Linked DNA regions of Homo sapiens: region 2 is linked to region 1. Evidence: promoter capture Hi-C in human tissues and cell types (Jung and others, 2019). All regions are on one chromosome and are shown on one strand. Each heading gives the region's core, a stretch centred on a gene start or on the middle of the fragment in contact. The rest is flanking DNA. Distances are from core to core; before and after follow the strand shown. Region 1 holds the start of RASA4 (RAS p21 protein activator 4). Region 2 has its middle 10 kb from the start of RASA4B.

The links. Contacts are between HindIII fragments. The study calls those that stand out against the background at their distance.
Region 2: a fragment that was not itself captured here is called in contact with the fragment with the promoter of RASA4 in region 1 in 4 of the 25 tissues and cell types used here (mesenchymal stem cells, neural progenitor cells, spleen and 1 more).

Annotation. Positions count from the first base shown.
Region 1 is chr7:102,613,960-102,620,719 of GRCh38, forward strand. It overlaps RASA4 (RAS p21 protein activator 4), which reads right to left and starts at 2,797. Exons shown (of 21, transcript NM_006989.6): 1 at 2,666-2,797. The coding sequence starts at 2,730. RefSeq lists enhancers at 1-162, 1,132-2,100. The HindIII fragment of the contact is 11,664 bases long and covers 1-6,760 here.
Region 2 is chr7:102,524,690-102,531,449 of GRCh38, forward strand. No RefSeq gene overlaps it. Among named protein-coding and RNA genes, the nearest start is that of RASA4B, 10 kb to the left of the region's middle. RefSeq lists enhancers at 285-786, 787-1,286. The HindIII fragment of the contact is 8,734 bases long and covers 1-6,760 here.

The DNA of each region.
Region 1 (6,760 bases), core at 1,547-4,046:
AAAACCCATGAGTAGAAGTGGCAGGAAGGCAGCTGGCAGCTGTGTGAGGACAGCTTCCTCCTTGGAACTGTCTCAGTCAAGATGAGCCACTATGAGAGGTGGTAAGCTCCCCGTCCTCAGAAGTATGCAAGCCCTGGCTGGAGGAGATGCTACTCAGAAGATAGGCGGGGTGCTGGTGAGGCACAGTGAAACTCCAGTACTCAGTGAGGGCCTCCCATGATCTCCAAACCCCTGCCCGACTCTGCAGCCAAATGCTTTGCATAGGATTTCCGAGGCTCAGTCTCACTGAGCCCAGCCGCAAGCTTACAGCCGCGGGCAGGCTAGAATTCTCAGCCTGTCGGCAGCAAAGGCAATCTGAATCCTGACTTCTCTACCTACCCTCTTGGCAAATGGCTTTCACTTCCTGAGCCTCAGTTTCCCAATGTGCAAACCGAGGATGTCTATCTTATAAAGCTAAGAAGAGGATTAAGTGGGGGAAGTCCTCAACACCTCTTATTCTCCCTACTATGGACCCGGTGCCAGGATGAATGAGTCACAGTCCCTGCCCTCACAGTCAGCTGGGACAGGCACCACTTGACGGAGGAACTGCCACACCAGGGGCTTCCTCCTGCCACCCAGAGTGCTGGGGGGCGAGCCCAGGAGCCAGGAACTCTGCCCAAGTGCACCAGGGAATGCCCTGGAGAGGAGAAGTTTGAGAGGAGTCCTGAACATTGAATAGGAGTTTTCTGGAGGACTGAAGTGGAGTGCTTGAAGGCAGAAGTCCCCACACATGGGCGAAAGCAGAGATGTGAAGGGTAGTAGCCCAAATGTGAGGGACTGTTTATGGGATGGTTTAAGAGGCGGCTGACAGGTCAGAGCTGTGTATGCAAGCCACAGGGGAAGATGGGGGGTTGCAAAGGAGACGTGAGTAGGGCAGGCAGGGGGGCAGGGTGAGGATCGAGATCCCAAGGCACCCCTCCACTGTAGATGGAACCCCTTTGCCCAGAGGCAAAGCACTGAGCAGGGAACCAGGCACTGGGCTCCCAGGTGGGCATACTCCAAGAGCTTGGCTGCCCTGGGCTGGAGAGAGCCTGGAGCCAGGCACTAGGGCCAGCTGCTGTGGGGATGAGGAGGGAGGCGACAGACGGAGGGGCTGCTCCTCCCAGCTGCCACCAGCCAGAAGAGGCCAAGATGACCTAGTTCCTAGTGCCAGTGGTGGCAGGGGGTGGGGGATGCTTAAAGGCTGGGCCTGGAGGCTGAGACCCTTCTCAGAGCTCCTCTGCCTTCCCAGCCCACAGACCTCACTGCCAGCTCCCACTCCACCTCCCTCCAAGCCTCCAAGCACAGAAACCCACCTAGGGATGCCCACCGCCCTCCCTTCCCCATTGTCATGGTAACTGCTGAGCTGGGCCTCATCAGACCCAGGGGGCCTGGAACTGGCACTGCTCTCGGTGGTGGCGCGCTGAGCTTGCTGGGAAGCTCACAGGGGCCACCACACATATGTGTGAGCAGAGTGCCTGCCCCCCACCCTGCTCCACCCCCTCGCCCATGCTAGCCACTTCTCTGCATCCAGGAGCCCGGGGCGCCCAAGGGGTGGGGAACTGCAGCTCCGCAGACTTTGGACTCTGTTTCCTCCAGGCTCCACTTTTCCCCCTCCCACCCTCCTCCTCCAGGCAGCCAGTGCCCCTTGACCTTTGAGCTTTCCCCCTCTTCCTCTAGAGGGATTTCAACCCCTAGTTTAAAGAGGGGAAACTGAGGCTCTAGGAGCAGGGAGCTGCCTAAACCCTGTACATGAGGAAGGTGGTGGCAAGACCAAGATGGTGGGCCAGGGGTCAGGCAGCTCAGCCCTGGGACCTACTGAGAAGAGTGGAACAAGGGGCCCCTGAAACCTCCCCAAATCGAGCCAGGGACCAGGGGAATCCCCAGATGTCAGTGCCTGTGAGAAGCCCTAGACTCAAGACCCTGCTCTGCCTGCCACTTGGAGCCAGCATTTCACTTCTCTGAACCTCAGTTTTCTCATCTGTAAAATGGAACGGTGAGAACTGCCTTTCGGGGTGGTTGAGAGGATTAACGGGATGGCTCAGGTGTAAAGCCCAAGGCACAAGCGACAGTTACTACCCTCCTTCCCTCCCCCACAGTCCTGCACCTGTCCTGGCCTCCTGACCTGTTCTCACTTTTCATGCCAGTCCCTCCTACCCGAGTGCACAGCAGGAAGCCCGGGGACAGCCCCTGGGCCCCAGCATGTGCTTCAGGTGCACACTCCGGGGCATTAAGGGCTCTGGAACTACTGAGGAAGACCCTTCCTTTGCGGGGGACACCCCACCCCCTCCAACCCCACCCCGGGGGCAGATCACCAAGACGTCTCCCCTGGCATGTCACCAGGCTCCAGCTCCTGTCGTATCAAAGCCCCTTCCCCTCGTGAGCCGCGGATCGCTGACAAATTCTCGCCCCCTCCCTAGTTCCCAGCCCCCAGCCCTCGGTGACACTTCCCCGCCCCCCGGTTGTCACCCCGTCTGGTGCTCGCAGAAAATGTCACTGTCCCCATTTTCCCCGCCGATCCCCCACCACGGCCGCACTCCCGCACCCTCTCCGCTGCTCTTGTGGGTGGACCCCGGAAAGGTCAGGCGTCCTGGGGGGCAGTGCCCCTCCCCGGAAAGTTGGGGCTCCCACCCCCGGCCGCGCTCACATGTCCTTGGCGGGAAGGTTCTTCCCCTCCACGATGCGGATGTACAGCGAGCTGCGCTTGGCCATCGCGGGGTCCCGGCTCGGGGGAAGCCAGACACCGGGGTCCGGGGTGGCGGGCGGCGGGCGCTGGACTGGGCGCCGCAGGTGGGGCGGGCCGGGGAGGAGGCGGGGGCGGGGGCGGGGCGGCGGGGGCGGGGCTTCGCTGCCACTCCACTCACCCCGCCCCCGCCCCACGTGCGGGGGACACTGCGCCCGGGCCGGCCAATCCGCGACCGGGGTTCCCCAGGGCGGGGAGGGGCCGGCCGGGGCCGCAGCTCTCATTGGCCGTCTGGGGCGTGAGGGGCGGGGCCTGTGAGGAGGCGCTGACACTCGCCGGGCAGCCGGCGCGGTGGCTCGAGGGGGGCGCCCCTGGAGGAGCGGGTGGGGGACACTGCAACCTCCACCTCCCGGTTTCAAGCAATTCTTCTGTCTCAGCCTCCCAAGTAGCTGGGATTGCAGACACGCGCCACCACGCCCAGCTAATTTTTGTATTTTCGGTAGATACGGGGTTTCACCATGTTGGCCAGGCTGGTCTTGAACTCCTGACCTCAGGTAATCTGCCCACCTCGGCCTCCCAAAGTGCTGGGAATACAGGCATGAGCCATCGTGCCTGGCTGTTTTTATGTTTTTTAGAATCAGAAGAAAAAAAATATGTATTTTTTGTATTGGTTGGTTTGTGTGTGTATGTATGTATGTATGTATGTATGTATGTATGTATGTATGCATGCATTTGAAACAGGGGCTTGCTCTGTTGGCTGAAGTGCAGTGGTGCAATCATAGCTCACTGCAGCCTCAATCTCCTGGGTTCAAGCAATCCTACCACCTCAGCCTCCCATGTAGCTGGGACTACAGATGCATACCACCACGACTGGCTAATTTTTTTTATTTTTAGTAGAAATGGGGGGGTCTCATTATGTTGCCCAGGCTGGTCTAGAACTCCTGGCCTCAAGTTATCCTCCTGCCTTGGCCTCCCAAAGGGCTGGGACCACAGATGTGAGCCCACCATGCCTAGTCAAACAGGAGTATAATAGTAATGAATATGTAATAATGAATCTGACCTGACTGGTATCAGTCAGTCTTTATGCCAAAGCAGTTGTAAAATACACATTTGAATATCTTTTTTTTTTTCTTTTTTTTGGGGTGGAGTCTCGCTCTATCACCCAGGCTGGAGTGCAGTAGCGCAATCTCAGCTCACTGCAACCTCTGCCTCCCTGACTCAAGGCATTCTCCTGCCTCAGCCTCCCGAGTAGCCAGAGCTTCAGGGACCTGCCACCACGCCTGGGTAATTTCTATATTTTTAGTAGAGATGGAGTTTCACCAGGTTGGCCAGGCTGGCCTCAAACACCTGACCTCAGGTGAGCTGCCCACTTCGGTCTCCCAGAGTGTTAGGATTACAGGCGTGAGCCACCGTGCCTAGCCGTATTTGAATATCTTAACCCATATAAGTCAAACATGCCTAGGGCTCACAAAAGTTACAGTGCATCCTGGCACAGGAGAGGAGGCAGCTCTTGAGTTTCAGTGCATGCTTTTGATATTCACTATAGGTCAATGTCGTTGAAAGAAAAAGTGTTTGAGGCTGGGCACAGCGGCTCACGCCTATAATCCCAGCACTTTGGGAGGCTTGAGATGGGAGGATCACTTGAGGCCAGGAGTTCAAGCCCAGCCAGGGCAACATAATGAGACCCCCCCCCACCTTTGCTACAAAAAATAAAAATATTAGCCAGGCATGGTAGTGTGTGTCTGTAGTTCGAGCTACTCAGAAAGCCGAGGCAGGAAGATTGCTTGAGCCTAGGAGGGGAGGCTGCAGTGAGGTATGATCGCACCACTGCACTCCAGCGTGGGCGACAGAGCAAAACTCTGTCTCCAAAAACAAAAACAAAAACGAGGCCAGGCGTGGTGGCTCACACCTGTAATCCCAGCACTTTGGGAGGCCGAGGTGGGTGGATCACCTGCGGTCAGGAGTTCGAGACCAGCCTGGCCAACATGGCGAAACCCCATATCTACTAAAAATACAAAAATTAGCCGGGCGTGGTGGCAGGCGCCTGTAATCCCAGCTACTCTGGAGGCTGAGGCAAGAGAATTGCTTGAGAACCCGGGAGGCAGAGGTCGCAGTGAGCCAAGTTCGCACCATCGCACTCTAGCCTGGGTGACAAGAGTGAAACTCAGTCTCAACAAACAAACAAACAAACAAAAAAAGCAAGGAAGGAAATTCTTACACATGCTAAAAGATGGATGAAACTTGAAGACATAATGCTAAGTGAAATGAGCCAGTTACAAAGAAAGACAAATAGTGGTTGCTTCCACCTATGGGAGGTATCTGGAATAGTACAATTCACAGAAGCAGAAAGGAGAGTAGAAGTTTTCAGGGGCTGGAGCGGGGCAGGGAAAGCGAGTTGTTTGTTGAGTGTAGGGTTTCAGTATTGCAAGGTGAAAAAGTTCCAGAGATGTGCATATAGTTAATACTACTGTGCTGTCCACTTAAAAATAGTGAAGATGGGCCAGGGGCGGTGGCTCACGCCTGGAATCCCAGCACTTTGGGAGGCCGAGGTGCGTGGATCGCCTGAGGTCGGGAGTTTGAGACCAGCCTGGCCAACATGGTGAAACTCTGTCTCTACTATAAATATAAAAATTAGCTGGGCGTGGTGGTGCACGCCTGTAGTCCTAGCTATTCAGGAGGCTGAGGCAGGGAGAATCGCTTGAACCTGGGAGGTGGAGGTTGCGGTGAGCTGAGATGGCACCACTGTACTCCAGCCTGAGCGACAGAGAGAGACCTCGTCAAAAAAAAAAAAAGCTTAAGATGGGCTGGGTGTGGTGACTCATGCCTGTAATCCCAGCACTTTGGGAGGCTGAGGCGGGCAGATCACTTGAGCTCAGGAGTTCAAGACCAGCCTGGGCAACATGATAAAATTTTAAAAAATAAAGAAATAAGGCCGGGCGTGGTGGCTCACACCTGTAATCCCAGCACTTTGGGAGGCCGAGGCGGGAGGATCACTTGAGGTCAGTAGTTGGAGACCATCCTGGCCAACATGGTGAAACCCCGTCTCTACTAAAAATACAAAGATTACCTGGGCGTGGTGGTGCACACCTGTAGTCCCACTACTCGGGAGGCTGAGGCAGGAGAATCACTTGAACCCAGGAGGCGGAGCTTGCAGTGAGACCAGATGGCACCACAGCACTCCAGGCTGGAGACACAGTGAGACTCCGTCTCAAAATAATAACAATAAATAAATAAAATAGTTAAGATGGTAAACCTTATGTGTTTTTTTACCAGAATAAAAAAAATGCACCCATACCCCAACTTTGTAATATATTTTGGCAATATAAAACAATTGAAAAGAATTTTATAACAACTTTCAAAGCGGTTTGGGGGCAAGTAACTCATTTGATTTGCTCCTGGCCTTGACTTCTCTACCAACATCATGCATTCTTGAGAATCTTAGGATTCTTCCAAAGTGAGAAAATGTGACCTACGAATTGTTTTCATGCGCAGTGATGCATTTTGAAATACTAAATTTAACAATGGATGAAACTGACATAAAGTTATATTTAGAAGACATTTCAGTAAACATTTACTATTTTTTAATGTTGCAGTTTTAATATTTTGGAGCCAAAGCATTTCCCGCTCTTAAACCTCGAGGAGTTTTAGGAGCTGGAGGCCTCACACCTCTCCTGGAAAAAATTGTCCCTGCCCTAAGGAAGGACTCCTGAGCCACCTTCCGTCCTCACCCATCAGACTCTGACAGTGGCTTCTGGTGGCTGTCCTGCTGTGCCATGGCCCAGAGCCCCCAGAGAGGACTTTGGGAGGAGGCAGGTCCTGGAAGAATGAGACCGAAGGCATTGCTGGAGGAAGAAGGAGAAGCCCAGAAAACTGGATAGGAGGCAGGAGCAGGGGATGAGGAGGAAGTTGGGTGGCAGGTGCAGAGGGTGGCAAGGGCAGCCCTCTCCGAAGGCCAGAGGAGTCCAGCTGTGAACCCGCAAAAGCTGGGCACAGGAGCCAGGGACACAAGGATCCCTGGCAGGCTCTGGGCCAAGTGACAGCTGTATGTTAAGAAGTCCT
Region 2 (6,760 bases), core at 2,795-5,294, 88 kb before region 1:
GGAGGTGGAGGTTGCAGTGAGCTGAGATGACAGAGTGCCTGACTGAGCTGAGATGACAGAGTGCCTGAGTGACAGAGTAAGACTCTGTCTCAAAAAAATAATAATTAAAAAAAAGAAAAGAAAAAGAAAAAAACTTCTAAATTTTTTGTAGAGATGATGTCTCACTGTGTTGCCCAGGTTGGTCTCCAACTCCTGGACTTGAGCCATCCTCCCACCTTGGCCTCCCAAAGTGCTGGGATTAGAGCTGTGAGCCACTGCATCCCACCTGTACCCTTTCCTCTGAGGCCTCCTGGAGCTGCAGTCCCTTAATCCCCTCAGCCCCAGCCCCTGTGGGTGAATACTGCTGCCCCCCTCAAAGTGAGAAACTGACACGTAGCAAGGCAAGTGAAGCCCCAGGAGTGGGTGTTACCTGCCAGCCCAAAGCCGGGAGTCCAGAGTCTTGGGTCCAGATCTCTGCTATAGACTCTGGGAGCAACCAAGGACACACTGCTCCCACTGAGACTGGAGATGGTCCCAGGGGGCTTCCTGGAAGAGGCGGCACCTGAGCTGGGCTTGAAGGAGAAGAGCTGGGGCTGGGAGAAAGAACAGGAGGAAGGGCTGGGAAGTGGGGGAAAGAGTCCAGGTGCAGCTCTGAGGGCACTCCCCGAGCAGAGACGGCCCAGGGCTGGGGGAGACAACGTGATTCCAAGGGGACTCTCGCCTCCAGAACCCTGTGCAGGACCTGGCCAGGCCTCTTCTGACTCCACAAGGAGAAAAATGTGTGTGCAAGCGAGGGGACTTGGGATGGGGCCAGTGCAGCTGCGGCTGGAACGTAAACCTGTCGTGGCTTCTGGCGCCATGGCCACCCCCAGCCGGGGAAAGGGCCCCGGCTCGGCTGATGAGAACCAGGAGCCAGGATGGAGCCACAGTGGGGGCATGGGAGGGTGAGGGTGACGGCTCTTGTTTTTCAGCTTGACCCTTGCCCATCCACTACTCCCCCATCCACTACTCCCACAGATCCTGGGCACTGTGGGTAACTGGAACCCTGGCCTCTAGATGCCCCCAGCCCTTGGATCACTGGTGTCCCCCCACCACTTAGCCGTCCCCAGTAGGCCCCCCACCATCCCCCTGCATCTCTGCCTTGGCTCTGCCTGGGATCTTCTGCATGGCTGTTCCCCCATCCCTCCAGTGCCTGACGCCACCCAGTGTCTTGCTAACCCACAATTCTCCGGACTACTCCATGGATGCTTGCTGGATAGACGCGGACATTTTCCATACAGAGAACTGCACAAATATTTTATTTATTTTTTTGAGATAGGGTCTCGCTCCGTTGCCCAGGCTGGAGTGAAGTGGTGTGATCATAGCTCACTGCAGCCTCAATCTCCTGGGCCCAAGCAATCTTTCCACCTCGGCCTCCTAAGTAGCTGGGACTACAGGTGCATGCCAGCATGCTCAGATAATTAAAAAAAAAAATTTTTTTTTTAGAGTCAGGGGGCTCACTATGTTGCTCAGGCTGGTCTCGAACTCCTGGCTTCTAGCAATCTGCCCACCTCAGCCTCTCAAAGTGCTAGGATTCCAGGTGTAAGCCACCACATTCAGCTAAAGTGCACAAATCTTATGTGGACAGCTCGAGGAAGTCTTACACAGGCCTACGACTGCATGACCATCTCCCAGATCAAGAACTAGAACATTCCCAGCCCCAGGTGGCTTCCTTGTGTCCCATACCAGTCATCACCACCTCCAGGAATAACTTCTACCCCAATTTATTGCCATGGATTACTCCCACCTGCTTTTTTGAGATAGGGTCTCACTCTGTTGCCCAGACTGGAGTGCAGTGGCACAATCACAGCTCACTGCAGCCTCCAACTTCTGGGCTCAAGTGATCCTCCTGCCTCAGCCTCCTGAGAAGCTGGGATGATAGGCCTGCACCACCACGCCCGGCTAATTTTTTATTTTTTTTAAGATGGGGTCTTGCTATGTTGCCCAAGCTGGTCTCAAACTCCTGGGCTCAAGCGATTCACCCCCCACAACTGGCCTCCCAAAGTGCTGGGATTACAGGTCTGAGCCACTGTGCCCACCCGGCCCTCCTGCCTGCTTTTGCTCTTTATATAAATGGAATCCTACAGTGTATATTTGCTTGTGCCTGGCTTCTTTGCCAATGTTACATGCAGGGGAGTCACCCATGTTGCTGAATAGCATTCTACGGTGTGGGCGGAGGCCTCACAACCTGCCTCTTCACTAGCCTGTGGATGAACGTCTGTTGTTTCCTGTTTGGGTCTGTTATGAAGAAGGCTGATCTGAATGTTCTTGCACATGTCTTTTTTTTTTTTTTTTTTTTGAGACGGAGTCTCACTCTGTGGCCCAGGCTGGAGTGCAATGGCGCAGTCTTGGCTCAATGCAGCCTTCACCTCCCGGGTTCAAGCGATTCTCCTGCCTCAGCCTCCCGAGTAGCTGGGACTATAGGCACCCACCACCAGGCCTGGCTAATTTTTGTATTTTTAGTAGAGACGGGGTTTCAATATGTTGGCCAGGCTGGTCTCGAACTCCTGACCTCAAGTGATCCGCTCCCCTTGGCCTCCCAAAAGACATGTTTGGGAGGCTCAGTGCTCATTTCTCATGGGGAGATGTCTAGAAGCAGAATTGCTGGGGCCTGGGGCAGGCGTAGAACACTGGATTCTAAACAGGCCGGTTCTTACTGTGCCTCTCCGAGCATTTCACACGCATTCCCACCACCTTCCCAGGGGACCTACCACGTGTCTCCTTCACCTCCCTTTATTCTCCCAGTAACAGAAACTTCAGATCCATCAGCCTCTGTTTTGCAGAGCAGAGCAGCCCTCCTGACCTTGCTCCTGTCCTGGTGGGCCCAGGGCACACCCGTCACAGCTAAAGGGCCCACTGGTTTGGCCAACAAGGAGAGAGCCCTTTCCTGCAGGCTGAGAGCCTCTGTCTCTCTCTCTCTCTTTTTTTTTCTTTTTTTTTTGAGATGGAGTCTCGCTCTGTCACCCAGGCTGGAATGCAGTGACGTAATCTTGGCTCACTTCAGCCTCTGCCTCTGGGGTTCAAGTGATTCTCCTGCCTCAGCCTCCCAAGTAGCTGGGTTTACAGGTGCATGCCACCATGCCCGGCTAATTTTTGTATTATTTATTTATTTATTTATTTATTTATTTATTTATTTTTAGTAGAGATGGAGTTTCACCTTATTGGCCAGGCTGGTCTCGAACTCCTGACCTCAACTGATCCACCCACCTCGGCCTCCCAAAGTGCTGGGATTCCAGGCATGAACCATCACGCCCAGGCCCTGAGAGCTTCTCTCATGGCACTTTGGGACTGTCTGTTTGCAGTCCATCCCTCTGTGGGCTGGTCACCCCTTTACCCCCAGGATAGAGACTGTGGTCAAGCTATTCCTGCACCCAGTGCCCAGCACACAGCTTGATGTGGACAACAGGGAACCGGCGGCTCACAGAAAGGTGGGGTGGGAGAGAACAGCTTAGAGGCAAATGTCTCCTACTTTGAGGACTAAGTCCAGAGATGTAGCTTCAAGGTCCAGTTTCTCTGCTTGGGCCTGGGGAAAGCTTTTCACTTTTTGGGATTTTAGTATGAGCCTGGTGTCCCTCCAGGGTCCAGGTGGGCCCTTCCATTCACCCCAGCCTTAGACCCAAGGCAGATGAGTTGAGTACAACCAAGAACCACTGGCCACACCCTTCCCAGGCCCTGAGAGGTCACTTCCTGGACAGCCCAGGCTGGAACCGGCCCACAGTGGGAAGAGAAGGGGTCTCCCACTGGAGATAAGGCCTCCAGTCAATGTCTCTGACATTCATGGAGATCCCTCTGGGGCTCGGTGGCTGGTCAGAGGGGTCGAGGCAGGGCCCTGGGCAGTGGGTGGACAGGGTCCGTGATCAGAGGGACCGTCACCCAGCCCGCCCTTGGACGTCAGCCCAGACCCAGGTTCCTCTCTTCCCAGAAGTTCATCCCCCTAAATGGACTTACGTGCTTAGCTCTCATTAACCTTCTGAACCTTCCAGAAAGGGAGTGGAAATGTCCTGCCTCATCTCCTGCTGAGGAAGCCTGGGTAGGAGTGGAGGAAGATAAAGGGACCCCCCCAAGGGCTGCTGCTGGGGCCAGAGATGTGGGGGTCCCAGGCAAGGGTGTTGTCCTGAGCAGAGTCTCTGCACCGGCTGGGTCACCAAGGAGGCTCTGCAAGTTCATCCAGCAGAGGTGGGAGAGCTGAACACCCCTGCCTCTCTCTTAGGGATCCTTGACTCCCTCTGCACCAGCCCAGCAGTCCCCCGCCAGCCGCCCCTCACTTCCCTCCTCCAGCAATTCTTTTTATTGTTTTTTTGAGACGGAGTCTTGCTCTGTCGTACAGTGGTGCGATCTCGGCTCACTGCAACCTCCGCCTCCCGAGTTCAAGCAATTGCCCTGCCTCAGGCTCCCGAATAGCTGGGATTACAGGCACTCACCACCACGCCCAGTTAATTTTTGTATATTTAGTAGAGACGAGGGTTTCGCCATGTTGGCCAGGCTGGTCTCGAACTCCTGACCTCAAGTGATCCACCCACCTCAGCTTCCCAAAGTGCTGGGATTACAGGTGTGAGCCACTGCACCCAGCCCAAGGGCCCATCTTAACACTGCTACTGTGCATGAGGCTTGTGCTGGGCAGGGGCTCCCTGGGCTGGGCTGAAGTGACCTGGGTAGCTGGCATGGGTGGTCTGGGTCTCCAGGTCTGTGTTCTCATTTCTCATCTGTCTCCCTCCGTCCCTTCACCCCAGCAGAGACAGATTACAGCCTGCACCATGGGTGGCCAGGAGATAATCTTTCTTTTAATTTTGTATTTTATTTATTTATTTATTTTTTGAGACACAGTCTCGCTTTGTCACCCAGGCTGGAGTGCAGTGGCGCAATCTCAGCTCAGTGCAACCTCCAACACCTGGGTTCAAGCGATTCTCCTGTCTCAACCTCTTGAGTAGCTAGGATTACAGGCGTGTGCCACCATGCCCAGCTAATTTTTGTATTCAAGATATTCCTTTGGATTCGATATACTCTTTTTTTTTTTTTTTTTTTTCGAGATGACGTCTTGCTCTGTCACCCAGGCTGGAGTGCAGTGGCGCTATCTCAGCTCAGTGCAACCTCTGCCTCCCAGGTTCAAGAGATTCTACTGCCTCAGCCTCCTGAGTAGCTCGGATTACAGGTGTAAACTACCACGGCCAGCTAATTTTTGTATTCGAGATATTCTTTTTGTTGTTGTTGTTGTTGAGACAGAGTCTCACTCTGTTGCCCAGGCTGGAGTGCAGTGGCACAATCTTGGCTCACTGCAATCTCCACCTCTCTGGTTCAAGAGATTCTCCTGCCTCAGCCTCCCAAGTAGATGGGATTACAGGCACCCACCATCACACCCGGCTAATTTTTGTATTTTTAGTAGAGACAGAGTTTCACCAAGTTGGCCAGCCTGGTCTCGAACTCCTGACCTCAGGTGATCTACCCGCCTCGGCCTCCCAAAGTGCTGGCATTACAGGTGTGAGACACCGCACCTGGTCGATATTTGAGATATTCTTGAACTCCGTGTGATTTGGAGGTTGACAAACCACTCGAGGTAGAAGAGACAGAAGTGGTGGAAGCATTTGAAGCTGAGCTTGGAGGACCAGAGGACTGGGGCTCCAGGAGAAGGGGTGGGAGGTGGGGGAAGGGTGGCAGGGAGCAGCTGGTGTGAGCCCTCATGCACCATCCTGGAGACCCAGGAGCTTTGGGCCTGACAGCACAGCTCAAACCCGTCCAGCAAGCAAGGGTTCCAGCTCCTGCAACACTGAATCCCCCAAATCCCTACAAGTCCCCAGGGGCATCTGGGGACAGTCTGCATTTCAGCCAGGACCTCACCTATGGGTCCTGGGAGCAAGGGGAAGCCATCCCCTTTGCCTGGAGTGTCCTGCTTGGGAAGGGCCCCCACAGCAGGGTGGCTGGGACCCCAGAGAGACCCCTCTCTCGAACCTTAGCCCTTGCCTTTTTGTGACCCTGCAATGGAAATATCCCCCAGGAAGGTTACTTTGATGGGGTCAGACCGGGTAGCCCCCGACCACTCGCTGCCCCAGACTCTTGGACAAGCTGATTCCCTCCCCAAGGCTTCACAGCCCCCCACTGCCCAAGTCTTCAGACCCCTCAGGTAAACCCTTATTTCCAAGAGCGCCCCGGCTCCCATGTCAAAGAGGGGGTGCAGAGACACACTGTGTGGGTGAGTGGAGGGCTGCCTGGTTTCCAACAGTGGTCCCCTTGGGGCACCTGTGCTCCTGCTGCAGTGGACGGCTGGGTGTCTGGAGGAAGGGCTGGGGTGTGGAGACAGCGGTGGGGCACAGCCAGCAGGGGTGGGGGTTCCAGGCTGACTCCCTCTGCATCTGCCGAGGGATGGGCTGCGAATGGTTTCTGTCCCCTGATATCCACTTGTTCTTTTTCCTTTCTTTTCTCCCTCTCCTCCCCTCCCCTCCCCTTTCCTTCCCTTCCCTCCTTCCTTCCTTCCTCTCTCTCTCCTTCCTTCCCCTCCTTCCTTCCTTCCCCTCTCCTTCCTTCCTTCCTCTTTCCTTTCTTTCTTTCCTTCCTTCTCTTTCATCTCTCTCTCTCTCCCCCCCCCCCTTTCTTTCTCCCTCTCCCTCTCCTCTCTCTTTCTCTCTTTCTTTCTTTCTGACAAGGTCTCAGGGTCTTGCTCTGTGCCCGGGCTGGAGTGCAGTGATGCAATCATAGCTCACTGCAGCCTCGACCTCCTGGGCTCAAGCGATCCTCACACCTCGGCCTCCTG